Regions from separate parts of the Homo sapiens genome. Here all the other regions are linked to region 2. Evidence: promoter capture Hi-C in 16 types of primary human blood cells and fetal thymus (Javierre and others, 2016). All regions are on one chromosome and are shown on one strand. Each heading gives the region's core, a stretch centred on a gene start or on the middle of the fragment in contact. The rest is flanking DNA. Distances are from core to core; before and after follow the strand shown.

Region 1 (3,545 bases), core at 199-2,698, 680 kb after region 2:
TCCTGAAGTCATCTGCAGCCAATTTGGCATTGTCAATCTCCACCACCAGCCTGGCATTCTCAGCCTTGCTGCATAGAGTCTGGAGATATGAAGAAGTTATTTCATTGCAAGAAAGGACATTCCACTTGTTGGAGCTCCCTAAAGCTGACAAGGGCTGACTCTGGAAGGAGGAAGTCACCCATCCTAGACCTCTGCTACTCCATGTGCATTGGAGTGTTATGGGCAGGCTCTAGGGATCAACTATGGAAAGTCCAGGGTTTCTTCCAGTGCAGTGTATCTGTGACCTGTTACTCAGGTTAGATAGCTGCATGAAAATGCAACAGGAAAGGCCTGGCATGATGAAATGAGGCTTCTTCCAATCTCCCTGTCTCCCAGGCCTACTGGGGGCCCAGGGCATTTCATTGCCAACAACATACCCCGGGATTCTCTGGTCATAAATGGTCCCTCACAGGAGCCAGCTATAACTTTGGGCCAGGCGAGAAGTGGATATGGGCCCTTGGCAAGAAAGAAACTTCTCTGACAGGCATTTTCTTCCCTGAGTTACTTATGGGAAGCCTGAACTGCACTGCACTAAATACATCAAACCCAATCCCCTGACTTTAAATAAAAGAGGAAATGAAAACTCAGAAGACTCAGAGGATTGGGCAATACCACCAAAGGTCACAGAGTTCATTCATAGACCTGATGTTCAAGCTCTGGCTCCAGTAACTGCCATCTGGGTCGCTTACCCAGCCTGAATCTCAGTGTTCTCAACTGTATAATGGGCTAATGATACCTCCCTCTTAAGGTTATTGGGAGGAGCAAATGAGGCCACAGAGATGAACATGCTTGGTGACTTCCAACATGCCCTATGGGAACAGAACTACCAATGAATGCTGGTGACACAAAGTTCCTGGGAATCCAAAGCCACTCTGAACCTCTTACCTTCTTCTGGAGCTCCTCGATGGTCCGGAAGTAGGACTGGTAGTCAGGGCACATGTAGGGGACCTGCTGCTCACACCACTCACGGATGCGGCTCTCCAGGCTGGCGTTCTCCTGCTCCAGCTGACGCACCTTCTCCAGGTAGCCGGCCAGGCGGTCGTTCAGGGATTGCATGGTCTCCTTCTCATTGCCAGTGAGGATGCCCTCCCCAAACCAGCCCCCACCCCCACTGTAGCTGGTAGCGAAGCCTCCAGCAGGGAGGCAGAGAGCAGGGAGGCAGCTGGTGGCCCTGTAGCTGCTTCTGCCCAGACCCACTGAGCAGGCAGAGAAACTTCTGGCCACAGGGGAGAGACTTGGAAGCTTGCAAGAGCTGCTGGAGTACATTGCGGACACACGAGTGGAGCCCCCACTGGCCCCTCCTGGGCTCTTGAGAGACCCAGAAGAGAAGCCGGCCTTGAGGCATTTGGAAGCCATGGCCCCTGCAACTCAGATGCAATTGATAGGTCTCTGAGGCCAGACACCCCAAAGCAGAGAAGCAGCTCCTTACCCCAGATTTATATCTCTGCCCCAGTGGGCATTGGTTGGCCTTTACAAAGTGTTTTCTCCTCATTAAAGTTAACACCACTTTCTATTAAAACCCCTCATTAACCTGTTATTTAGTTTCCTGTGAAAATTTACCAGTCTCATAAAATAGGAGCCCCATTACTATGTCAAGACTCATCTCCACCACCCCACATCACTGGGAAGACCAAGTCCCTGTCAGTTCTTCAAAGGGACCTGTCATTTGAGCCCAGACCTCAGCCTCCGCATTAAGCAAGCATGGGAGTTCAGCCACTGTCTTGACTTTCTCCAACTTTGACTTCTTTTATTGGCCTGAGGGAGTAGAGGAGGTCTCTGGGGTGCTCCCAGAAGATGGAAGGGTAAACTTGGTTGGTGCAGGAAGGCAGGGGTCTTGCAGCCAGGGAGACACAGAAGGCTCTTGAATTGGCCCAGAAAATATGGCTAAGGTGACCAATTTTCTTGGTTTCCCCAGGAATTTTCTGGCTTTAGTTCCGAAAGTTCCATATGCCAGGGAAACCTCAGTCCTCGGTAAAATGGGACAGCTTATCACCCTAGATACTGCAGAGCCCTGATGGACACTTCCCTACTCTTTCCCTTGCCAGGAAGTCTGTGCAGGTTGTAGAGCCTAAGTTCTAGCCACAATGCCTAGAGATCAGTTAATTGGACACCTGCCCATGATGACATCTAGGAGGGCATGTCTTCCCCAGCCCTGGTTGAGAAATGGAGAAGCCCTTCCTTCTGGCTGCCTGAATTGGAGCTCTTTTCACACAGCCCTATCAATAACCCGGCTGATGGTAGCAACCATCATTCACTGAGCATTTAGTACCCACCAGCCCCCACGCTGATCTGTCTCTATGCATTCTCTTATTCAGTCCTCACACAAACTCATGAGATTGGCATCACCAATAGCCCATTAAATAGAGGAGGCTTGGACTGTTTCAGGAGCCTGTCCCAGATCACAGCTGAAAAAGCATCTGTACAACTGTTCAAGGCATGCTATCTTCTTTAAGGCCTCACACACACCCTCCAACACAGTCGTGGATAGAAAGGTGCTGACTCCTACAGAAGGAGACAATGGTCAGAGTAGAAAATGGCTTACCCAAGGTCCACACAGGCTTCCCAGGGAGGCTAAAGCCCAGGCCTTGCAGCTCCAAACCACAGGCCCACCCCACTGCCTCTAAGGGCCCAGTCCTGGCCAGGCCTTCCCCCGAAGTCTGGCCCCTGCTCCAGCCCTGCTGTGCCCTCCCAGCTCTGAATGCCCAAGGCAGTGACTATTGGTAGATTTCTTGGCCTCCAATTAACTGACGTCTTCTGATTGTCTTGTGTTTCAGCCCTATTTTCCCAGGGAGACTGTAAGCATGGGGGCAAGGATTGACCTTGTACTTTTTTTTTAAATCTCTGTAGTGTTAAGCACAGTGCAGGGCTTCTAGATGTCTATGAATTAATTAATTAATTAAGTGATTTTTCCCACGGTGAATTGTGTTAAGAAAGGAAAGAAAGAATGGGAGGAAACAAAAGAGAGTAGGGAGCGGGGAAAGGAAAACACAGTCAATCTTAACTATTCCTACTTCTTTTTTTTTTTTTTTTGAGATGGAGTCTCACTCTGTTGCCCAGGCTGGAGTGCAGTGGTGCGATCTCAGCTCACTGCAAGCCCCACCTCCAGCGTTCACGCCATTCTCCTGCCTCAGCCTCCTGAGTAGCTGGGACTATAGGTGCCCGCCACCACACCCAGCTAATTTTTCTTTTTTTTTTTTTTTTTGTATTTTTAGTAGAGACGGGGTTTCACCGTGTTAGCCAGGATGGTCTCGATCTCCTGACCTCGTGATCTGCCTGCCTCAGCCTCCCAAAGTGCTGGGATTACAGGCATGAGCCACCACACCCAGCCTACTATTCCTACTTTTGTAAATGAGGAAACTGAGACTCAGAGATGGAAGGGGATCCGGCATCTCTGTGTAGGTGAGCAGCACCTGTCCAGACTAACCAGCCCCTTTGGCCAAGAACAAAGTGTTTTCTGGGCCAAAAGCCATTCTGCCCAAGGGAGATGGATCTCATAAACCAATTTA
Region 2 (3,410 bases), core at 507-3,006:
TGTGATTGGACTACAGGTAAAGCTTCTCCTACCTCTTCGTGGTTCTTTTTGAGATATGTCATCTCCTCACTCAGAGACTCATATTGCAGCTCCTGGTCGGTCCTGCAGAGCGTCAGCTCGTCCAGGACTCGCCGTAATCCGTTGATGTCGGCCTCTACGTTTTGGTGAAGGGTGAGCTCATTTTCATACCTTGGGGGGCATTTAAGTGAATTTCAGTGCCAGTAAGACTACCCCAAGAAACAGAAATATTCAATCCCAATTGCTTTAAACTGAAAATTAGAAATTGAATTAGGACTGTAAATAGTATAAAAATATATGAAGAAAGCGCTCCTGCATTACCCCCACTCAATTCTGTACAGGATAATTGGAAGTTATTTCATCACACAAATTCCAATAGCATAACCTAGTTAAATAAAAATACACCATTTTGGAATTTTATTTTAGTTAACGTTTTTCCTTAGTTGACTAATGATTTACTGAGCATCTACTTTGTGCTTGGCAGTATTCTAGGCAGGCAGAGAAATATATTGATATTTTGTCCCAGGAATATAATAACTATGTATAAGTTGATTGTAACATTATAATACAAATCCTTTGCTTCCTTTTATCTTTTAGGTGATAGTTCATTCTACTTGGGATGAAATAGAAATTTTATTTAACAAATTAAATAAATAGAAACTTTTTTCTAGAGCAGGATTTTCTTCTGTCACTTACTTTAGCCTGAAATCATCAGCAGCCAGTCTGGCATTATCAATCTGCAGAATGACATTAGCATTAGTAGTAGTGGAGGAGATAATCTAGAATAAACCAAAACAGAGAACACAACAAGTAAGTATGCTTTTATGTGATTCATTATTTCAGGAAATGAAAAAGGTTACTCAAGTTTTTGCATAAAAATTTCACCTCCTTATGTAATAATCAAAATGTTTCAAGTTTAACTTTTAAAAATTAAAGACATGGTTTTATTTATTCTCATATATTCCCCTAAATTTAGAACTACAATACTTTTTTATTCATATGCCTATGAATGTACTTCAACATAAACAATGGAACTAATAACATTTTAACTACATTAAAATTCATGAATCAAAGGGCCCATTTTTGAATAGTAGGAAGAATTGTTTATCTAAATAAATAAATACAAGTTATAACAGTCATGAAGCATTTCTTATTGTATGTCTTTTGTTAGGTATTTCTTAGTTTTAAATACTTGGGTTAGTTCCAAATCTGTGATTTCTCACCTTATTCTTAAGATCCTCAATTGTTAGGTGATATCTGCTATAGTCATGATCAAGTCCACGGCAAGATCCAGGTCCGTATTTTTCATACCAACCCTTGATTTTTCTCTCTAATTCAGCATTTGCCTCCTCCAGAGCTCGCACATTATCCAGGTAGGATGCCAAGCGGTCATTAAGATTTTGCATGGTCACCTTCTCATTTCCAGAGAGGAGTCCCCCTTCGCTTCCAGCAAAGCCAATACAAGCAGCATTTCCAAGGGCACCACCAGCATGGCTCCCACCAGGAACACTGCCCAAGCCCCCTCCCAAGGCACAGGAAAATTCACTTCCAGCAACAGAGCCACCACATGCACTGCTGCCTGCAAAGCCTGCACCTCCATTGAGGGGTCTGACAGATCCAGCTCCAGACCTTAAGCAAACATGCCTGGATCCATTAGAAAATTGGAGAGACATGGTGTTTTGAGAAATGTTCACCTTGTCTATGCAAAACTGTAATGTCCCAAGAGAACAGAATATCATGCACTGATAATTTCTTTGGGTTTTTATATATCATTATTGGGGCGTTCCTATTTGAGTTATACATGCCAAAAGCAAAATGGCATCACTTAGATTAGCATAAAATTATGTATAATTGGGTGATTTTAAAAATAATTAATGTCTAACATCCCTCGGTGTTGCTTTGGGCTATTTCTTATCTTAAATATAATAGGGTTTGTTCTATATTAAGTTTATTAATTTAACTTCTAATTTTGAGTGAGTAATCCTTTCCTTTCATCTAGACCCTAGGCATATACTGTCATTATCTGGCGCCAGGTATTATCAAATTTTTTATAAAGTTAAGTAAGATTATGATAGAGTTCTGTGAGGTACAGTAGGGTCTCAATTACCATGGAGGGGTATAAAGGACTGCTAATTACAGAAACAGATATTTTATCCCACCAGAAAAAAATGTGTTATTTAGAAAACAGAGGCTAGTGACATCTCTGTTCTTACCATGATTATAACATCTATTTATTATCTTGGACAATGACACAAATATTGACCTATTATTTTGTTTAAAATAGCATGGTTATGATGTTTGGTGCTCTATGCTAAGTGCTAAAATGAAAGACATAGTGTTAACTAAATGCAGAAGTGAAAAATGCGTGATTACAATCTTTAAGAAATCTATTGTCAGGTCCAGACAGGGGCTGGATCATGGTTAGCTTTCTGTGCTGGTCTAAAGAGTTTGTAATGAATCCTAAGTAAAAAGCAGAGGGCAAAATGATCAGGTTGAAATGAAACAAGGTGGTCAATTACAAGGTTGGAATAATGGTCCAGGTGAGAAGGATGAAGGCAGTGGGGATGCAGAGAAGATGGCTTTGAGAGCATATGGTAATATGATTGAATTTGGAGAGTAGGGAATAAGGCAGAATTGGGGATAACTCTTAGGTAATTAATTTTAGATTCTGGGAACTCATAATATTCACTGAGATGGGGAATAGAGGAGGAGGAAGACACTGAGTTTAGGTTTGGACCAACTGGATTTGAGGGGTTGCCAGAATGTTCCAGATGAAGGTGACTGATAGCAAGAATGACTGTTTAGAATATGTATACTGAACTGGAAAAATACTTGACTAGCAATGAGTAAAAGAAAATTGGAGGGTCCAGCTCTCATTTATAATGATGTTCAACTGCATATTTGGAAGTAATCCTGGTGCAGGAATAGAAAGGATGATGATCAGATTGATGTGGGTTTTGGGATTTGAAGACAGGTCCAGAAGAAGGAAATAGTGGCAAAGAAATTTCTGGTGTTCTTGAGAAAACAATTGAGGCGATTGACTGTATGATCATATAGCAAGAAGAAAGTAAAACCAGAGGGACAGATGGACTGAAGAAAAGGGCAGAGGGTGAGTCATTGGGTATCCTTATGAGGTCATGGAGCAGGCGGAGTGTGAGGAGGAGATTGATAAAGGTGAAGGATGACAGGCTAAAATTGGATAGTGGAAACCAGAATTTAGAATTTTAAAGTAGGCACAACTCCAGGTGTCACCAAAGTCCACAGAGTAGTCATGGGAGTGGACCAACAGTCACTGGAACAAGAAGTCAGAAGTGGATTGGACCTGAAAGGCAAGAGAGTAGGAGGTCAGGAACTATCTGTCTGTGACATTAAATGTACCATCTATAAAGGCG
Region 3 (3,414 bases), core at 135-2,634, 660 kb after region 2:
AGAGGTGAGGGGAGCAGGGAGGGAGAAAATTAAAACAAATATCTAATGCATGCAGGGCTTAAAACCTAGATGACGGGTTGATAGGCAACAAACCACCACCATGGCACATGTACACCTATGTAACAAACCTGCACGTTCTGCACATGTATCCCAGAAGTTAAAGTAAAATAAAATAAAATAAAGAAAAGCAGCTTCCTTAATAGGACCTGCATGATCCTGCTCCCACCTCTTGCCCCAGCCTCACCTGATAGCTCCATTGCTCTGGGAGCTGCAGGTACTCTGACCTTCTTCCAGCTCCTGCAGGGACTGTACTGCTCAGGCCACAGGGCTTGTGCCCTGTGCCGTACATCTCTGGAACCCTCTTCCCTCTCCACTCACCTACATTTCTTCTCTTGTTTAAGAGCTCAACTCAACTCTCACGTCCTCCTTGAAGCCTCCCCCACCTCTCTGAGACAAAGCCCCCATGGTACATGTATCTCCTTTCATCGTGAGTAGTAATCATTCTATTATGGTCTGTCTCCCCGGCCAAGCAGTGAGGCCAGCAGCCACAGACCCATGCCCACCCTGCATACCTCACATAGAATAGGCACCTAATAAGAATATTTGGATCAGACAAAACAATAAATGAATGAAGAATTAATACATGGTGAAAGGAAAAAGGATGATCTCAGAGACTGACAGGCATGCACTCAAAACCAGGAACAACACACTGGATGCTGGATGGAAACCCAGTAGCTCAGAGAACCAATGGGAGGCCTGAGGATCATGTGCAACCTGAAATGTGTTCCATTTGCCTGGCACTATATATTTTCTTTAATTTTTTGAAAATACTTAAGAATCAGGAGAATTTAACATTTTTAAAAACCCAGATTCTCAGCTTCCCTGGAACTATTGGAAGATCAGCAATATTGGACCTGCTTCTCACACAGTAGAAGTGGCCCTGAGGGCATGCCATTGCCTGGATTGGACAAGGCAAGAGCTTTCTGCTTTTCTACCATCTCCGTATGACCCACGTCATTCATGCATGTTAATGGCCTGGTCCTTGCAAATGTTTGACACAACACTTGCCCTGAAGTTATAGATTCTGAATGATGGAGAAGCAATGCCAAATGCGGAATAAGAAACAGCTACAACAGTCGTCAGCCCACTGGGTGTCCATGGCCCAGAGGTACCCTGCATTCAGACAGCCACCAAGTCCTGCTGATTCTACCTGCACAGTGTCTAGAGCTGATGCCTCTGCTGCCCTAACTCAGGCCCTCCCTATTGCTTACCTAGGCTGTGGCCAGGGCCTCCTGGACAGTTTCCCTGCCTGGTTCCCCTCCCTCTACTCAGTTCTTCCTGCTGCTATCAGGGCCATCTTCCTGAAGAACAGCTTTGAGCTTGAGAGACATTTACTGAGCATCTACTATGTGCCACGTACAGGGAATAAAATTGTATTATAATGTCTCTGCATTCTAGATGTTTACCATCTAGTGGAGAAGACACACAGTAAATTCTCTCATTTCCTCCTCAAAACAATTTCCACTCACCTATAAATTAAAGCCCTCCCTTCCCAGTATGACCCGTGTTGTTCTCCATAAATGGGCCCCGGCTGATCTTTCCTGTCCTGCTCCCCACCAGGGCTCAATTACACAAGGCTACCTATTGTCCTGCTGACATGCCAAAATCTCCGTTCTGAGAGGAATGGAGCTATGAGGTGAGGCTGGGGTAAGAGGTGGGAGCAGGATTGTGTAGGTACTATTAATAAAGCTGCTTTTCATCCTAAGCTCTGGACAGGCCATGACCTCCAGTCACCTGTCTGCCTATCTCCCTAAACATATGGAAATGACAGGAGGGCAAATGCCCTGTCTTCCTCTATCTTGGTGTCCTCCATAGCACCTGCCCCATGGTGGGCACTTAGAAGGAGCTTGCCAGCTTGGAATGAGATAGAATGGTCTCCGAGGGGCTTGGTTCAGGATGGCAGCATGAACACCACTGCCTGACTTCCTTCAGAGCATACCAGCTTCTTAATGGCTCCATAGTCAGGACAGGGTTCTAAGCTGATGGTCCCTCAAGGGTAGATCCAGTTGCTTCCTATAACCTCCCAGAATCCCTGCCCACGTCTCTCTAAGCCTCAGCTGGGCCTGCGTACTTGCAGTCCTCGTTCTCCAGCAGGCTCCGGTACGTGTTGATCTCGCCCTCCAGCCGGGCCCGGACGTCCAGCAGCACCTGGTACTCCTGGTTCTGCCGCTCCAGGTCAGCCCGGATCTCAGCCAGCTGGGCCTCAACGTTGGTGATCATGCACTGCATCTGGGCCAGCTGGGAGCTGTAGCGGGCCTCACTCTCCGTCAGCGTGTTTTCCAGGGAGTCCCTCTAAGGCAAAGGAAGACATAACCATGAGGAAGGGAGCTGTTTACCATGGCCTGCTTCAGAAAGAACCAAGAAGAGCCAAATCTCCCTTTGATGCTGGAAATGAGCCCTCCCTACACCAGTCACTTTGGAAACGGAAGCCCAGAAAGGTCAAATGACTTGTTCAAGGGTAAACAGCTGGTACATTATGGAACCACAGTTTCTGTTCGTAAATCTGATCCTAAATCCCTCCTTTCTTCTGCAACCTTTGTCTGCCTTCAGGATTGGATCTGAGATTTCCCAAGTACCTCCCTGCCGGCATCATTTAGAACAGGGGTTTTCAAACCTGGCTGCACATTAGCGCCACATGGGAGCCCTCAAAAAATACCCATGGCTGGCCGGTCACAGTAGCTCATGCCTGTAATCCCAGCACTCTGGGAGGCCAAGGCAGGTGGATCACCTGAGGTCAGGAGTTCGAGACCAGCCTGGCCAACATGGTGAAACCCCCACTCTACTAAAAATACAAACATTAGCAGGGCATAGTGGTGCACACCTGTAATCCCAGCTACTTGGGAGGCTGAGGCAGGAAAATCACTTGAACCCAGCGGGGGCAGAGGTTGCAGGGAGCTGAGATCATGCCACTGCTCTCCAGCCTGGGCAACAGAGTGAGACTCCATCTCAAAAAAAAAAAAATAGCTGTGATCAGGTCCCACCTCCAGAGACTCTGGTTCAGTTGGTCCAGAAAAGAACCTGGGCATCAGGATGGGTGATATTGAGATCCATAGGTTTGGAAGGGCAGGCTAAGCACAGAACAAGCCTTCTTGTGGAGTTGAGTTTGACAGTGTCCACCTAACCCATGTCTGATTTGAAACATCCCTTTTTTATCTCTGAGCTGGATCTCGGGAGAAACCTCCCTCCGGGAAAAGTCAACAGGATGAGCATCCATGGTGGCTGAAATCTGAGCCTCCTCTTCCTCTTTCCTGGGGACCTGCACCTATGCTCAGTACCGCCTAGGATCCGGAGGGATGGGTGCCCACCCAGCAGCTCTCACCAGGCTGTGCTGGGCCTGCAGCTCGATCTCCAGCG
Region 4 (3,917 bases), core at 424-2,923, 720 kb after region 2:
TCTCTGCTCTGCACCCAAGGCCAGCCCCTCATTGAAAATCACCCCTCACTGACAATCACCCCTCTGACACCACCAACAAAAATCTGTACGGCTTCTGGGGTGGGCAAAGTCCAGCCTCACTTTCAGTGTCCATTTCTTGTTTTGTCCCATCCAGCCTCCTTGAGACACCTGAGGAGCTGCCTTCCTTATCTCCAGGGCACGAAAGACCAAGGAGGCAGTATTGCCTGTGGGAATTGGTTGCCCAGGAGAGTGGGGCAGTGGGGTGCAGCCAGCTCTGACAATAGCTCTCTCAGAGACACTCCACCAGCCCCACTGTGGACAACTCATGGTCACTGCCTCCTGCACACCTTGGACACAGCCATGGATCTACAGAACATTCCAGCCAGTAGCAACCTGGAGGGCAGTTAAGAAGGCATTTTACGAATGAGGAACCCAGTCTTAGGGAGTAAAATGGTGAGTGAGTGGGTGGCAGAATGTGTAATGAGTTCCCAGGTCTCCTAAGACCCAACAGTACTTTTGGCACAAAAGACCTCTTTATAGGAAAAGACAAGAGGTTCTAGCATCTGGAACTCATGAGGCCACACTCCAATCCCATTCTTGCAAAAGAGGTAAAGGAATACTTTATGCAGAAGCCTGCAGGGTGCATGAGGTAGGGAGGGCGAGTTGCTCTTTTTTTTTAATTATTTTTATTTAATTAGATACAGGTTCCACTCTGTCACCTAGGCCGGAGTGCAGTGGCACAGTCATAGCTCACTGCAGCCTCTAAATCCTGGACACGAGCAATCCTATCACCTTGGCCCCCCAAAGCACTGGGATTACAGGTGTGAGCTACTGCCTCTGGCTCTTTATAATTGCCCCCACCTGTGCCCCTGTTGGTCCTAACCAGATTCCCAAGACCCCTCTCTCCCTCCCCCAGCACCACCAAGTTGAGAAGATGTGCACTGGCCTCTGCACCTGGACAGCAGGTGCATTCCAAATTTGCTGAGATTACATACCAGACAGTCATTGCCTGGGCAGGAAAGGATTTCCTTGAGTCAGCAGTAACACTGACATTAGAGCTGTGTACAGGGTACCAGCCACCTGCTCCCCTCTCTTTGACATCCGAGGACTCACCTTGTCCCGGAGCTCTTCAATGGTCTTGAAGTATTGGCTGTAGTCGCATTCTGGGCTGGTTGGGGTCTGCTTCTGGTACCAGTCATGGATCTTCACCTCCAGGTCAGCATTGGCCTCCTCCAGGGCACGTACCTTGTCCAGGTAGGAGGCCAGGCGGTCATTGAGGTTCTGCATGGTAATTTTCTCATTGCCAGAGAGGAGACCACCATCGCCACCACCAAAGCCACCACCAAAACCCCCACCAACGCCCCCTCCAAAGCCTCCACCGAAAACACTACCAGCCCCTCCACCAAAGCCACAGACCCTCATGCCACCCCCATATCCTCCTCCTGACCCTGAAGAGACAAACCTAGCAGAAGAAGCTGAGATACTTCGGCTTCCACCTCCCCCAGAGAGACTCCCCCCACCAAAGCCACCTCCCCCAGCCAGGAGGGAACCCCCTCGGGTTGAGCCACCCCCAAAGGTGGAGGAAGAAGTTTGCAGAAATGTGGTGGTCATGGCCAGGTAGCTGGAGCCCGTGAGTTCTCAGCAAACCCAAGAGATGCTGGCAGGAGGTACCAGGCCAGGCTGCACGCTGGGGCTCCTTATATACCCTTCAGAGGGTGTTGTGGGACCTCGTCTCCTCCCCTAAAGCAAAGCCAACTCCTTCTGCCTTCCTGACAAACACAGCTGCCTGCACACCTTGAGTGGGTCATGTGAAGTTTTTCTCTTCTATTTTTTTTTAATGCAACAAAAGAGATGATTCAGAATTAATAGTGTTTTTCCCCAGGGCACGGTTTTAACACTTGGATTACAGGTTCATCTCTCCATGCCAGAAGAGAGCAGCAGGGAGCGAACTCTCATCACAGCACAGCTACCAAGGCCTCTGCCTGTACTGAGAGCAGCTCAGGCCAACTGTGCCCTCAGCTGGACTTCACTTCCCCGAGCCCTGAGCCTCTCCCCAAGAGGACAGCTCCGTGTTCTTAGTTTGGGAGTCCACTGGCCGATCATTATGCTGTGTTATCCAACTCAAAACCCTGTGAGTGAGTGAGTGAGTGAATGAGTGAGTGAGTGAGTGAGTGAGAGACTGCAGGGCTCAGGGAGAGTGGAGGCCCTGGGGATGGGAATGCAGGGCCCCTGGGGGCAGGTGGAGGACAGGAGCCAGGGACCTTGAGTAGTGTTCCAGCTGAGGTGACCAGAGGAGCCAGCATCCATCCCCTTACCTGGTGCTGCAGATGGACTCCCCTCCTCCCACCTCTACTCCCCTCCTGCCATCCTCCAGCCTGTGTTCCTGGCACCCTCACAAAAGCCCAGCAGGCTTGGGACTGACAAGGGGATGACTGATGATCCCGACACCTGCCAACTGCACGGCGCTGAACCTTTGCTCGTTTCTGGGATGTGTTGGGGCAAACCTCCGCTGATAAGGCTGGGGCAAGTTCCAGGAAGCCCCTGCCTTCTCCAGGAGAGGCATGTCGCTGCTTAGCAGGGCCAGATTAGCCCCCATCTGTCCTGTCAAGTGCTGGCTGGGGACGGGCCGCTGCAGAAGGCTCTATGTGCCTGAATGCTGTGGAAGGGAAGAGAAGGGAGACTGGCAGGCAGGCTGGAAGACACCGGAGATCTTGAAGACCAAGGCATTGCTTCACACAGACGGGGAGTTGAACACTCAGGAGAGCCCTTTTCTCTGCCACCAGCTCAGGGACACCTTTCCAGGGACACCTGATACCTGTGGGCAGTGCCACTTGGAGGTGTGGCTCAGCCCTCTGGACCTGGCCCCAGGGCTTACAGAAACTCAGGAGGAGGATTCCTAGCCCAGGTTGCAGCATGGTGAAGTGGACAGGGCTCTGGAGTCCCTCAGGCCCGGGTTTGAATCCTGGCTTTATCAATTATCATGGTAAGACTGTGAGGCCTGGGTTCAAATCCTGACCCTACCAATTACCATGGTAAGACTGTGGACATTTACCTTTTTAAGTCTCTGTTTCCCTGTGGCAAGGGGCGCTCTCAACTCTCACTTCCAGGGAAGCCCTGTGGCCCAAGAGCCCCCATCCTGCCCCCTCCTGGATCCCCACCCAGGTGCCAGACATGCAGGGGCCAGGGTGCATGACCGGCACCTGCGCCTGAGTGCCCTCACCAGGAGGGGCTTTGTCGTTGGGCATCAGAACATGCCCTGTGAGCCTGAGCATGTTCTTAGGCTCAACGGCATCGACCTTCCATAGCCAGCTCCTATGGGGCAACGCAGGTTGTTCTTAGGTTCTTATTTTGCTATAATAGCATAATCCTTTACTTCTACCCTGCACTTTGTGATTTACAAAGCACTTTTGCATCCATCACCTCCTCTCATCCTCACAACAGAGGGTGACCCCCACCCAAGATTCAGAAAGAATGAAATTGAAACTTGGAGAGGTGAAGCAACTTGTGCCAGGTGGCACCACTGGTAAGGGGCAAAGCCAGGACTCAAACAGGTCCTCACACCCTCAACCAAACAGGGCACAGGGAAAGAGTCCTTCCTGCAGACCCCAAATTCCTGCATCTGAGCTGGGCTGGCAAGGGGAACTGCCAGCCAGCAAGGCTGGGGGTGGGTTCCTTCTCATCCATCTTCGCAGTGAGCCTGGCCTCCAATGCTGGGCACAGACAGTGTGGTATTGTCTCATGGGTGGGAGGGTATTGTCTTTTCCTCCGAAAGAAAAATAATCAAACTCAGATCATCCAGAGCTCATTAAAAGCCTCTGCAGACATTGTGGCCCCAGCAATTAACTCAAGAACAATTACTCGCCTTTCACCCCAGGGTGAGGAAGGGCTGGACCCCAGCCAGATCCCCTTCTGCACCT
Region 5 (3,807 bases), core at 12-2,511, 580 kb after region 2:
TTGTTTCATACCTCCTCATGGTTCTTCTTCAAGCAGATCAGCTCCTCCCTCAGGGACTCCACCTGGGACTCCAGGTCAGACTTGCAGAGGGTCAGCTCATCCAGGATCCTGCGTATGCTGTTGATGTCCGACTCCACCAACAGCCTCAGGGACTGCTCCGTCTGGTACCTGCACGTGTCGGAGTGGGAGGATAAGTCAGGAAAGAAAACCACCTTCCCCTCTCATGTGTTGTTTGGGTAGAATTGGCCTGAATCTTCTTGAACTTACAGTTTTCTGCCTCTTCTCTTCCATATGCTTCAGTCAAGCTGTCCATGGATAGGCTGAAGAGGTTCCCTGACTCACCTAACACCACGAGGAGCCCACAGGCACACATGAGATGAAGTCTCTCACTGTGTTCTCGGTTTTGTTAGCTAATATACCACCAAATCAATTCCCAAAGAACAATTCATTTCAATCTCTGAATTTTGTGGTTTAAGAAACACTTCCAAAAAAAACCAGTATAGACCAAAGAGCAGGCAGCACATGAGTCTAGTTCCCTATTTGAAACTAATTTTACATAACCAGCCCTAGGAGGAGAAATAGAGAGAAATGGCTTTCTCCTCTCTTCCAGGCAATAGTAGGTCCCTAGGGCCATGAAAGAACCATAGGGACCTTGAAGTTCAACATACTTGCTTCTGAAGTCGTCAGAGGCCAGCTTGGCATTGTCAATGTTCACCACCAGCCTGGCATTCTCAGCCTTGGCACACAGAATCTGAAAAGAAATTTCTCTCATGAGGTACACTTGAACTTGAAAATGTCTTACTGTTCAAAGAGAGCCAGCTGCTGCTGGCCCCCCATATGGCCAACCCCCTCACCTTCTGCTGGAGCTCCTCAATGGTCTTGAAGTAGGACTGGTAGCTGGGGCACAGCAAGGGCTCCTGCTGCTGGGACCGCTCCTGGATGAGTTTCTCCAGCTCCGCGTTGTCCCGCTCCAGCTGACGCACCTTCTCCAGGTAGCTGGCCAGGCGGTCGTTCAGGAACTGCATAGTCTCCTTCTCGCTGCCATTGAAGGAGCCCTCACAGAACCAGTTGCAGTTGCTCACATTGGCGGGGATGTTGCAGGCCCCAGGCAGGGTGTAGCCGTGGCAGCTGGGGGGCACGCAGGGCCGGGAGGAGCAGCTGGTGCGGCAGCCCAGGCTGGGCAGGCAACAACTGTAAGACATGGTGCTGGAACAGGTAATGGAAAAGCAGGTAAGCTGCTGGAGGTGGATGTGGGCAGGTTTGAGTCTCTCCTTCCTCTGCAGTCCTTTTATACCATTAATTGTGGGTGGGGGCTTGGCATACAGCATAGTTTCCTTTCCTAATGCTTCAGCTAATTTTTCTCCAAAATATGCTAGTTAGATGCTTCTAAAGAGTCCCCCCTCAACCCATAAAATTATTCCATTCAGCTTATGTCACACCAGGCTCTTCCTGGGTGCTAGTGGTTGGTGAAATCAGAGTTTCATCAGATGGCTTCATAGGAGATAGAATCATCACAGCCCCAAAAGGCTGTCTGCATTACTCAGAGGGGAGGACAGCCAGGGACATGGGGTGGAGTTGTTTGGGAATCAGGGATTCCTCACCCAGGAGTTTCCGCCACTGTTCTTTCTCCCCAGAGAGAGAGCTCTGAGAGAGAGCTTTGAGAGTTACTCTTCCAAGTAGCTCTTTCCTCCCACATTCATCCATGTTTCAGCATTCAATTTGTTTTTATAGCAGAAACTCAACCTGTATTCGCCGAAATGATCCTGAGCCTTACTATTCGTTGGGGTTTAGGGAACTTGCCAACACATGGAGCAACTGAAAACAATGGCATGTTCATGGTTGAGAAATGAGAAAGTAAAATGGAAACCAATGGAATGGATGGGAGTATACCTAAAAGAGGGCATCTGCAAATGGCAGCCCACACGTCAAGTTTACCCTGCTGAATTTTTGTAAATAAAGTTTTTGTTTGTTTGTTTTCTGTTTTTTTTTTTTTGAGACAGAGTCTCACTCTGTCGCCCAGGCTGGAGTGCAGTGGCACGATCTCGGCTCACTGCAACCTCCACCTCCCGGGTTCAAGCAATTATCTGCCTCAGCCCCCCGAGTAGCTGGGATTACAGGTGCCCGCCACCACACCCGGCTAATTTTTGTGTTTTTAGCAGAAATGGGGTTTCACCATGTTGGCCAGGCTGCTCTTGAACTCCTGAACTCGTGATCCGCCCGCCTCGGCCTCCCAAAGTGCTGGGATTACAGGCGTGAGCCAATGCGTCCGGCAGTAAATAAAGTTTTAATGGAACACAGCCATGCCCATTTGTTTAGCTATTGTATATGGCTGCTTTTGTGCTACAGTGGCAGAGTTGTGTAGTTGTGACAGAGACTATAGTGTCCACAAAGCCCTAAAATTAAAAAATTTGCCAACTTGTACTAAAGCAACAGCCTCTCTAAAGATGAGCAAGAGTAGAAATATCTAGAAGAAAAAATATGCTGGAAACAGTCTGGAGCAGTGAGAGTTCAGATGGCAGCACTGAAGCATGAATATGAAGCATAATACTGCAGACTCACCAAGAAACGAAAATTGGAGCAAGGGTGCTCAGAGGTATCTTTGTATCCATGGTGGCTTTTTCTCAAATTCTCTGGAAATTTCTATCATCTTATTTCTAGACTTGTTCCTCTTTCTAGAGTATTAACTCTCCTAGAGGTATGACTATGCCAGCCTGAGATGCTTCCAGGACAAGCCACAGTGCCCATGAGAATGCAGATTTACTCTGTTGTCCCTACAAGTAGACACTGTCTCTGATAAGTGTGCTTCTATCACCTCTGGGATCCAGTTACCCTTTGACTCTTGCATAACCTAGGGAGCCTCTCTATTGCCCAATAATCACTCTTCACAGAATAGCCTTCCCTACCTCACTTCTTTTCCCTGTCACTCTACCTTGCCTTTGTTCCGCAGGGAAACAAAGTCATGTTTCAGAAAGAAGTCCCAAAAGATTATTTGTGGAACACAATACAAATCATTTAAAGAAGGCTGCATCTGAATTTCAAAAGCAGCATGAGAGGAGCAGAAAAGCACATCTTCGATTTTATTTATTTGAGTGTTTCCTCTTTTTTTCTTAGTCTATCTAGAGGTTTGTAAATTTTCTGTGTCTTTCAAAAAAACTCTGTTTCATTGATTTTTTGCTATTGTTTTTCTAGTCTCTATTTTTATTTATTTCTGCTCTAAGTTTTATCGTAAGTATCATAATAAAATTTAGAGCAAAAAGTGTTATTATATCCTTCCTGCTGCTAACTTTGAGCTTAGTTTGTTCTTTATCTTTTTTAATTTTTTAATTTTTGTAGGTACATGGTAGGCGTGTGTGTATGTTTAGATATAGGTTTATGTATATACATATATAAAACTTTCCTCTTAGTACTGCTTTTGCTGCATCCCATAAATTTTGATACGTTGTGTTCTCATTTTCATTTGTCTCAAGATATTTTCTAATTTCCTTTTTGATTTCTTCTTTGACCCATTGATTATTTAAATGTTTTTTAATTTCTACATATTTGTGTATTTTTCAGTTTTTTTCTTATTTCCGTTCTAGTTTTCTAGTTTCATTCCATTGTGGTAGGAAAAGATACTTAGTATGATTTCAATCCTCTTAAATTCGTTAAGACTTGTTTTGTGACCCAACATATGATCTATCCTGGACAATGTTCCGCATGCACTGGAGAATATGCATTCTGCTACCATTGGATAGAACGTGTTATTTGTTAGGTCCATTTGTTCTATAGTATTGCTCAAATCTGTTGTTTCCTTGTTGATTTTCTATC
Region 6 (3,691 bases), core at 1,011-3,510, 640 kb after region 2:
GTACCTTATACCTGGTACCTTAGGGCTCCCTAATTAAATCTGGACAAAGACTCATCTGTAAGTGACTCCTCTGACTTATATATGAAACCCAATGGCTGTCTTGCTCAGTTCATCCTTCAAATCACCTCATTTTGCTCCTGGTTAATGAACTCAGGCTGCCTTATCCTCCATTTTAGGGAAATAAATGAAGGAAGACAAACATATATGCTTGGATTAATGAGGAGTTTTCCCTTCCATCTTCCATCAGCTTCGATTGTAATGAAAATTTTACTGTAGAGAATCTAGCAAGGAAGAAATGACAATGATTCCCTCACTCAACAAGTATTTGGGCATTGGGATGGAGGGTGGGGAAGGAGTCACCCTGGCCCTCCTCCGCCTGACTTACTTGATCCTAAAGTCATCGGCAGCCAGCTTGGCATTGTCAATTTGTACAATCAGCCTGGCATTCTCGGCCTTGCTGCACAGGATCTGAGGAGAACAGGAAGACAGTTCACACACAAAGCATCATGCCCTAGGCTCCTTCTCCACGTGTGGTGTCTATGATCATGTCCAAGAGAAACCAAGAACCCAAAGTTCTCTGAGCTTTACATGGATTCCTCCTGTCTTGCCTCTGCCATCTCAGACCCAGCACACCCAAGCGATCCCACACCTCACCTTCTGTTGGAGCTCCTCGATGGTGTGGAAGTAAGACTGGTAGTCGGGGCACACGGTGGACTCGTGGCACTTGCTCCTCTCGAGGAGTGTGGCCTCCAGCTCCGCATTCTCCTGCTCCAGCTGGCGCACCTTCTCCAGGTAGTTGGCCAGGCGGTCATTCAGGAACTGCATGGTCTCCTTCTCATGGCCATTCAGGGTGTTTTCACCATAGGCCCCACAGATTCCAATGTTGCCAGGAATGTGGCAGGTCCCTGGCAAGGGACAAGCAGTGTGGCAGGTAGGCGGCAGACAGAGGCTGGGGCGGCCCAGGGGAGTGGACCCCACACGGACTCGGTTGGCATGTGCCACGTTGGCCAAAAGGCACATGGGGGCAATGTTGGCCTCTGCCCCAGGCTGGCACCCAATGTCGATGGGAGAGACAGAGACATTTCTTGCTCCAGGAGCCATGGTGCAACCCAGAGGGCATGAGGAGCTGCTGTAGGAAGAGGTCATGGTGTTGGGCTGAGGCTGCACAGGAGCTTCAGATCAGCTGGGAAAGCTGAACCACTGAGACTGAAGCCTCCTCTCCTCCCAGCCCTTTTATACCCCATCCTGGGCGGGTGTTGGCTCCAATGCTTTGACCTCCTGCCTTGATTATCTACCTGTTGTGGTGCCATCATCCTGTTACTCAGCTGCTGAGTTTACCATGAAAAGTTTCTCAGCTCGTTAAAGGAATGTTGACGAATCTGAGGCCTCTTGGCTCTTTGAAATCAGGTTGGCTGTTGATGGGAGGTCAGAAGCTTTTTATTATCTTTCAAAGAAGCAAAGTTATAGCCATCAGATGCTTAGACCTTGACTGGGTTTGGCCTCTTTATGGATGTGTCCACTCTGGAGACACAAACTTTCCTGTTGGTCAGTGGTGTAGCAGGAGGACTAACCCCGGTGATGACAATGGTTCTCACTTGGGTTAAGACTCAACCAGCCTTCCCTATCCAGGGAAGAAACTGAGTCTTGGAATTGGTGGATGTTATGGCCTTGGGTTATCAAGAAGTCCTACATTTCTTCTTTCTTTAGTTGGTTGCCTTTCAGACTCACTTTGAGGAGCAACAAGACTTAGATGAATCCAGTCACTCAAAACACATCCCCTGGCTACGTCCCATATGCTACGCACCTTGCTGATGCTTGATATATAGTTGGTTAAGCACAAAATAGTTCCTGCCATTGGGGAACAACTGTAACTTGGGTAGACGTGATGTTTCAAACAAGGTATCTGAGAAGCTCATGAAAATGAGGATGACTCCAAAAACCATGGCTTATCTCGACCAAGAAGGGCAAGCTCAAGAAGCCAGAAATAAACAAAGAGAAATGAGCAATAATCTTACTGAACCTCAAATAAGAACTTGGTCATGAAAGTCAAAGGACATTGAGTGATCAGAGCCTCTGTGGGCTCTCTTCATACCTTGCTTCCTTTATTCTAAAGTCAGTCATGAGCCTTCACCCTATGAGCTAGGGGATTGAGCAATGATACCTTTTAATCTTTACTTCCAACCTGGGAGGTGGGTACTCTTAATTTTACAAAATAAATAAACAAGCCATTGAGGACAGTTTTCTAAGATCAACCTCACTATAAAGTATAAAGCCTATTCTCAACATCAGCTTCTTTCAACTCCAGAAACTGTTTCTTCACCTTGACCACCTCCAAATCCTCCACCCCAAGGATAACTACTGTGTCATTGCTAGAACTAAGAAGGATTCAAATTCCTAGAAACCGGGCAAGAAGTTGAAATTAAGATGTAAAACAAAAATCTGACATTGTGTATTTTTCCCTTTGTATCTCAGAAAATACAGATGTGGAGGTATTCATACAATAAAACAGAGTTTCTCCAAGGGCTAAATCAGAAGATGCCAGGGGAAAGTCCTGTCCCTAAAATGGTTATATTACACATTCCACATTCAGATAGTTCTTGGTACTAGGGATCCAAGACACATGGCTGCTGAGATCCCAAAACTTTTCTCCCAAAATTTGTGACAGAAGATACATAGACCCCTGAGACTAAGAAAAACCTAATGTGGAACAATCCAAAGTGATTATAACTAGAATTTTGGGAAAATGAGTTTTTGCCAGTCCCCTGAGCATTGAACAAAAGCTGAACATACACCTCTATAGGGATCAGACGTGCATATGTGAAACACAGGCTATTGGAGTTCTATCAAGAAGAAATACAGAATCTGAGAATTCAGTCCAGATTGGGCTTCTCAGGAAAGTAAGTAGTAGTGAGCGCTGACCTAAGGGTTATTCAGAGCTCACCAATCCATAACCCTTTACAGACAACATCATTGGGAGACATCACCAGGGCAGGCTGTCCCATCCTCCAGAGGCCACTGGGTGCAATCTGCATATGTTACATCTTCAAACACCCTTTTGTTACTCTCCTCCGCCTCATCACATAGCAACAAGCTTCTCTATAAATCAGAGAGCCAGGCTTTTAAAGTCATTTCCTTTGATTTGCTAAGTAGCACCCATCTTTTGGCTTTATCCTCTGCCCAGATTCATTCCATGGACTAAAAGCCACGATTTCGTCCATTCACAATACATGACTCATCACTGCTGAAGCCTTGTGTGTCCAGATGACACCCCTCTCTGCCAACTGGCTTGGGTCCTGGCTTGGGCTTCTACCTTGTACTGTTTTGCATAATGATACTGATGTTGCATGGCTCTTTGTAAAATCGCTTTGTTCCCCTGATTTGTATTTTCTCAAAGGAGGTGAAGGAGCGGGTGGGGATCCTAAGACTCTCTTCCTTCCCAACCCTTTAAAAAGAGTCCCTGTGGCCCCTGGTGACCGAATATGAGGCCAGGTTCAGTAACAAGAAGTGATGAATACAGAGTGTGAGAGATGGGAGCCTGCTGCCCTCCTTCATTCACCTGTGTGCACAACATTCTCTGTGTGGATTCTGACTTTAGACATGCCGATCTCTAGAGGCATGAAGTCTACTGCAAATGGAGGTGAGGAGCTGTGGTCTTGGAATGCCATTTTCACTAATTTTGATACATAGGGGC
Region 7 (3,414 bases), core at 360-2,859, 550 kb after region 2:
GCTTCATGGTGTGACTTCAAAGACCTGGACTCATGAAAGCCCTGGCCTTCTTCAGTGGGGTGCAGCAGGTCAAGAGACAGTATTGCTGTTCTGCTTTGTGGCTTGAGGCCCCTAACTCTTTGGCAAGCTCTGGCTCTCCTTGGTGAAATGGAAAAGCATAGCTCTTGCCCTGTGTCTTTTGCTAGGTCACATTTCCAAGTGCCAAATTCCAAATTCATGGTTCTCAGAAAGAGGAATAGATCCTTTCTGGGACAGTTCCTGATGGCCATGTTTCCTGATATGATGGGCTTTTTTCATGTCCATGATGACGTCAATCAACCAAATAATAGATATCCACTATGACAATTTCATCCAGGGCGATGTAATAGACACTGGGAGGGGTGGAAAATAGGACTCAATGCTATGGTCAGAAGAAGTTCTTACTTGTTAAGAAACTGCACAAGCCCAAGGTAGTGTGGACACTTTTCACAAACTAGATCCTTTTTACAAACATGATCCTCAAACATGCAGAACTTAGATGTCCATTATTCCTCACCAGAACTCTTAAAGGTAAACTGTATAATTCCCATTTTATAGATGAGAACACCAAGGCATAGAGGGTGAGGATAATAAGTTGTGGACCTAGGATTCCAAAGCAGATCACTTTTCTTTTCATCACAACACTTGGCTTAAATATAAATGGCTTACTTCCTTCCCTTCTTCAGACAGGCCGTCCCTTTCTCCTCTCCAAGCTCTCTTTTTACCTTGAGCATGACACTGTCATGACTTATGTGCTTGTCTCTCTGTCTCTATTTGAGGTCCCTGAAGGCAAGGGCAGGGTCTAGTTTGTCTTTGAATCCCCAGCTCTAGGCACCTGGTAGGCACTGTTGAATGGGTGTGGGTAGAGTGATGAAGGGATGAACAGGAAATAATAATCTGAGGCAGAAGTTGACAAGTGATAACTGAGTGGTTTACACACTGGGGAGGGCGAGCAGCTCCAGGATTGGAGGCTCTTAGGAATGGATGAATGGATTTGTGCTGGGATAGGGAGGCTTCTAAGAAGCAGAGGGGAGAAAAGTAGGAAGTGCAGGTGAGGAGAATAATGTGCACACAGGAATGGGGTGGGAAAGCCCAAGGCATGGTTGAAGGACCAGGGTAAGTCTAGGCAGCAGGAAGGGGAGAGTTGTGAAGGGAAGTGCTAGAAATTAAAGCTTTATGGGGGATTGTATGGGGACCCTATGGTAGGGGGTCTCGATGGTGAAGTGGAGCAGCTTGGACTTCCCCAGAAGCTGTAGAGCCAGTATAAGCTTTTGAACCTAAGTGTGGTGTGACAAAAGGTGTTTTAGGAAATGTTTTAGCAAATATTTATCTGTTTTTGAAAAATGAAGGAAAGATTGGAGGCAAAGAGTTCAGCAAAGAGACTATTGCAACAGTCCATGCAAGACTAGAATTTATGGCAGGGATGATGATACAGATAAGGTTTAGTACAAGTGAGAGAGTTAGAGAACTGGGCCAAGGGAGAGTACAAAGAGAAGAGCAACAAGGAGCTGAGGACCAAACTTTGGAGAATTTCCCAATCAGAGATCAGGAGAAGGAAAAAGAATCTGTGATAAATGGAGAAATGGTGAGAAAAAAATGATAAAAACAAGTTCATGGCATCCCAGAAGGGCAGGAAGGAGGGTGCTTCCAAGAGGAGGTGATGTTAGAAGTGCCAAGTGCAGCAAAGGGGCCGCACATGATCAGGACCATGGAGAGGGTATTGGCTGCCTTGACCAGAAATTTACCAGGACCTTTCCAGGGTCACACAGGTATGCCTGCTGTACGCAGCGCCTGTGCACATTCTTAAAGTAATGCCCACAGTGAACTTCGGTAAACCAAGACTTCAAACACACAGAATTGAGATGTTCATTACTTAGAGAAGTTCTGCTGCAATAAATTTATATATCTGATTATTAAGCTTGGAGCTTTGATCTTACCAATACAGACTTTTATACAATAATTGGAGTGGGCTTTACGCAGATGCCAGACTTGTTTGAACTTGATGATTCGTAATAGTTTATTATTTAGGAACAATTATCCAAGAAGCATGAGTAATCTGAACTGACCGTGCATATGACACCACTTCTGTTTTGTCACAAGATGTAAGATGAGCCTTATTTGATATCCTAAAGAGGCAATGAGGAAAAAATTCAAGTATGGGCCTGAGGAGGCATACATTGGCCAGAAAGAGGAGGGGCTTCCTATGTCCTTGCTAGCAGAGGATAAAGCAGACAACAGATTCCAAGCCTCCCAGCTACAGCTACCAATCCAAGCAGCTTCCAAGCCTCCCAGCTACAGCTACAGACCAAAAACCAGATGGCTTTGCATTTGGCTCTTCTCTTCCTCCCTCTTACCTCCTAACATAGATCCTAAATATGAAAATGGTTAAAAGAGAGAGGGAAAATCTTGGAACAAGATATTGGGGATCCTAATGGTCAACTCATCCAAACCGTTCGTTTTACGAAGGGGAAACTGAGGCTCAGAATGGAGAAATGCCTTGCTTAGTATCATCTAGCTAGGACCCAGATCTTCTGATTCCCACTGCATTATCAGCCCAATCACCATTCTACTGAAATGTTGAAGAATTTCACAAACAATCTGATCTGTTATTACCTAAGGACAGAAATCAAGGGCAGTGAGAAAAACATCTTGTTAACCATAGATATGCTGTGTTGAAGAAGAATTATGAGTCAATGTGTAAATAAAGATAGAATTCAGCAATAGTACAGTTTCTTGTTAACTCTCTGATTTCAATTATTTCTAAGTTGATGATACAATTATATACCAACAATTTGGAGTAATTTAAACATAATTATATCCCATCAGATATAGATTATATCCCATCTGTTTGGAGCAACTTAGAACAATTGGTCAAACAATGGTGACCCTACTCGACAGCAATATGCTTATCCAGAGTAAGGTACACAAAAGATAGTCACAACAAAATTAAACTATTATTAAAATGGGGACAATTGAGAGATTAAAGAAAACACACCACAATGACACTGGATGCTATTAAATGACAGGATTATGAATGTTTTTTTTCTTCTCTCCAAATTCTTTGAAAATATATGTTACTTCTGCACAATAAACAAAATAAAATTTACATTTAAAATTTCAGAAGGAAATTCTTGCAAATCTTCTAGAGGAACAATGAGTTATTAAAAAAAAAAAGCCTAGGAGGCTCCTGTTCCAATATAATTACTACATTACACTTGAGCCTGTTCTAGAAATAAAGTCTTTGTTGTGATCGGCATTCATGCCCTTGTGATATCTGCTGACTTTGTCCATTCCAAAGGTGAGCTACTAAGAAGGAATGAAGGGAAATCAAGCTACCTATAGCTCATGAATTGACTGGCATGAGGTCTGAGCTTCGGGTGAAGGAGAAGACAAGGA

The links. The method cuts DNA at HindIII sites, captures the fragments that hold promoters and counts their contacts. A CHiCAGO score of 5 or more calls a contact.
Region 1: a contact is called between the fragment with the promoter of KRT35 here and the fragment with the promoter of KRT28 in region 2, in 6 of 17 cell types (M2 macrophages, M0 macrophages, M1 macrophages and 3 more). The highest score is 11.2, in M2 macrophages.
Region 3: a fragment that was not itself captured here is called in contact with the fragment with the promoter of KRT28 in region 2 in 2 of 17 cell types (M1 macrophages and M2 macrophages); the score reaches 5.9 in M1 macrophages.
Region 4: the fragment with the promoter of KRT15 here is called in contact with the fragment with the promoter of KRT28 in region 2 in 3 of 17 cell types (M2 macrophages, M1 macrophages and M0 macrophages); the score reaches 7.5 in M2 macrophages.
Region 5: a contact is called between the fragment with the promoter of KRT34 here and the fragment with the promoter of KRT28 in region 2, in 6 of 17 cell types (M0 macrophages, M2 macrophages, M1 macrophages and 3 more). The highest score is 9.4, in M0 macrophages.
Region 6: a fragment that was not itself captured here is called in contact with the fragment with the promoter of KRT28 in region 2 in 1 of 17 cell types (neutrophils); the score reaches 5.6 in neutrophils.
Region 7: a fragment that was not itself captured here is called in contact with the fragment with the promoter of KRT28 in region 2 in 3 of 17 cell types (M2 macrophages, megakaryocytes and erythroblasts); the score reaches 5.2 in M2 macrophages.

What each region holds. Positions count from the first base shown.
Region 1 is chr17:41,479,703-41,483,247 of GRCh38, forward strand. It overlaps KRT35 (keratin 35), which reads right to left and starts at 1,449. Exons shown (of 7, transcript NM_002280.6): 1 at 925-1,449; 2 at 1-79. The coding sequence starts at 1,395. The HindIII fragment of the contact is 10,492 bases long and covers 1,280-3,545 here.
Region 2 is chr17:40,798,203-40,801,612 of GRCh38, forward strand. KRT28 (keratin 28) reads right to left here and starts at 1,757. Exons shown (of 8, transcript NM_181535.3): 1 at 1,242-1,757; 2 at 715-797; 3 at 33-189. The coding sequence starts at 1,691. LOC105371776 (a long non-coding RNA gene) reads left to right here and starts at 3,132. Exons shown (of 4, transcript XR_934753.2): 1 at 3,132-3,362. RefSeq lists an enhancer at 1-935. The HindIII fragment of the contact is 3,919 bases long and covers 21-3,410 here.
Region 3 is chr17:41,460,699-41,464,112 of GRCh38, forward strand. KRT32 (keratin 32) reads right to left here. Exons shown (of 7, transcript NM_002278.3): 5 at 3,380-3,414; 6 at 2,132-2,352. Among named protein-coding and RNA genes, the nearest start is that of KRT32, 5.0 kb to the right of the region's middle. The HindIII fragment of the contact is 8,593 bases long and covers 1-3,414 here.
Region 4 is chr17:41,517,217-41,521,133 of GRCh38, forward strand. It overlaps KRT15 (keratin 15), which reads right to left and starts at 1,674. Exons shown (of 8, transcript NM_002275.4): 1 at 1,114-1,674. The coding sequence starts at 1,611. It overlaps MIR6510 (microRNA 6510), which reads right to left and starts at 1; the gene lies at 1. RefSeq lists enhancers at 1-309, 2,014-3,013. The HindIII fragment of the contact is 23,808 bases long and covers 1-3,917 here.
Region 5 is chr17:41,381,045-41,384,851 of GRCh38, forward strand. It overlaps KRT34 (keratin 34), which reads right to left and starts at 1,262. Exons shown (of 7, transcript NM_001386014.1): 1 at 855-1,262; 2 at 669-751; 3 at 12-168. The coding sequence starts at 1,202. RefSeq lists an enhancer at 255-1,454. The HindIII fragment of the contact is 8,651 bases long and covers 1-3,807 here.
Region 6 is chr17:41,439,776-41,443,466 of GRCh38, forward strand. It overlaps KRT38 (keratin 38), which reads right to left and starts at 1,208. Exons shown (of 7, transcript NM_006771.4): 1 at 655-1,208; 2 at 386-468. The coding sequence starts at 1,146. RefSeq lists an enhancer at 864-1,364. The HindIII fragment of the contact is 1,658 bases long and covers 1,432-3,089 here.
Region 7 is chr17:41,351,055-41,354,468 of GRCh38, forward strand. LOC105371778 (a long non-coding RNA gene) reads left to right here and starts at 443. Exons shown (of 2, transcript XR_001753056.1): 1 at 443-549; 2 at 1,368-2,744. The HindIII fragment of the contact is 650 bases long and covers 1,285-1,934 here.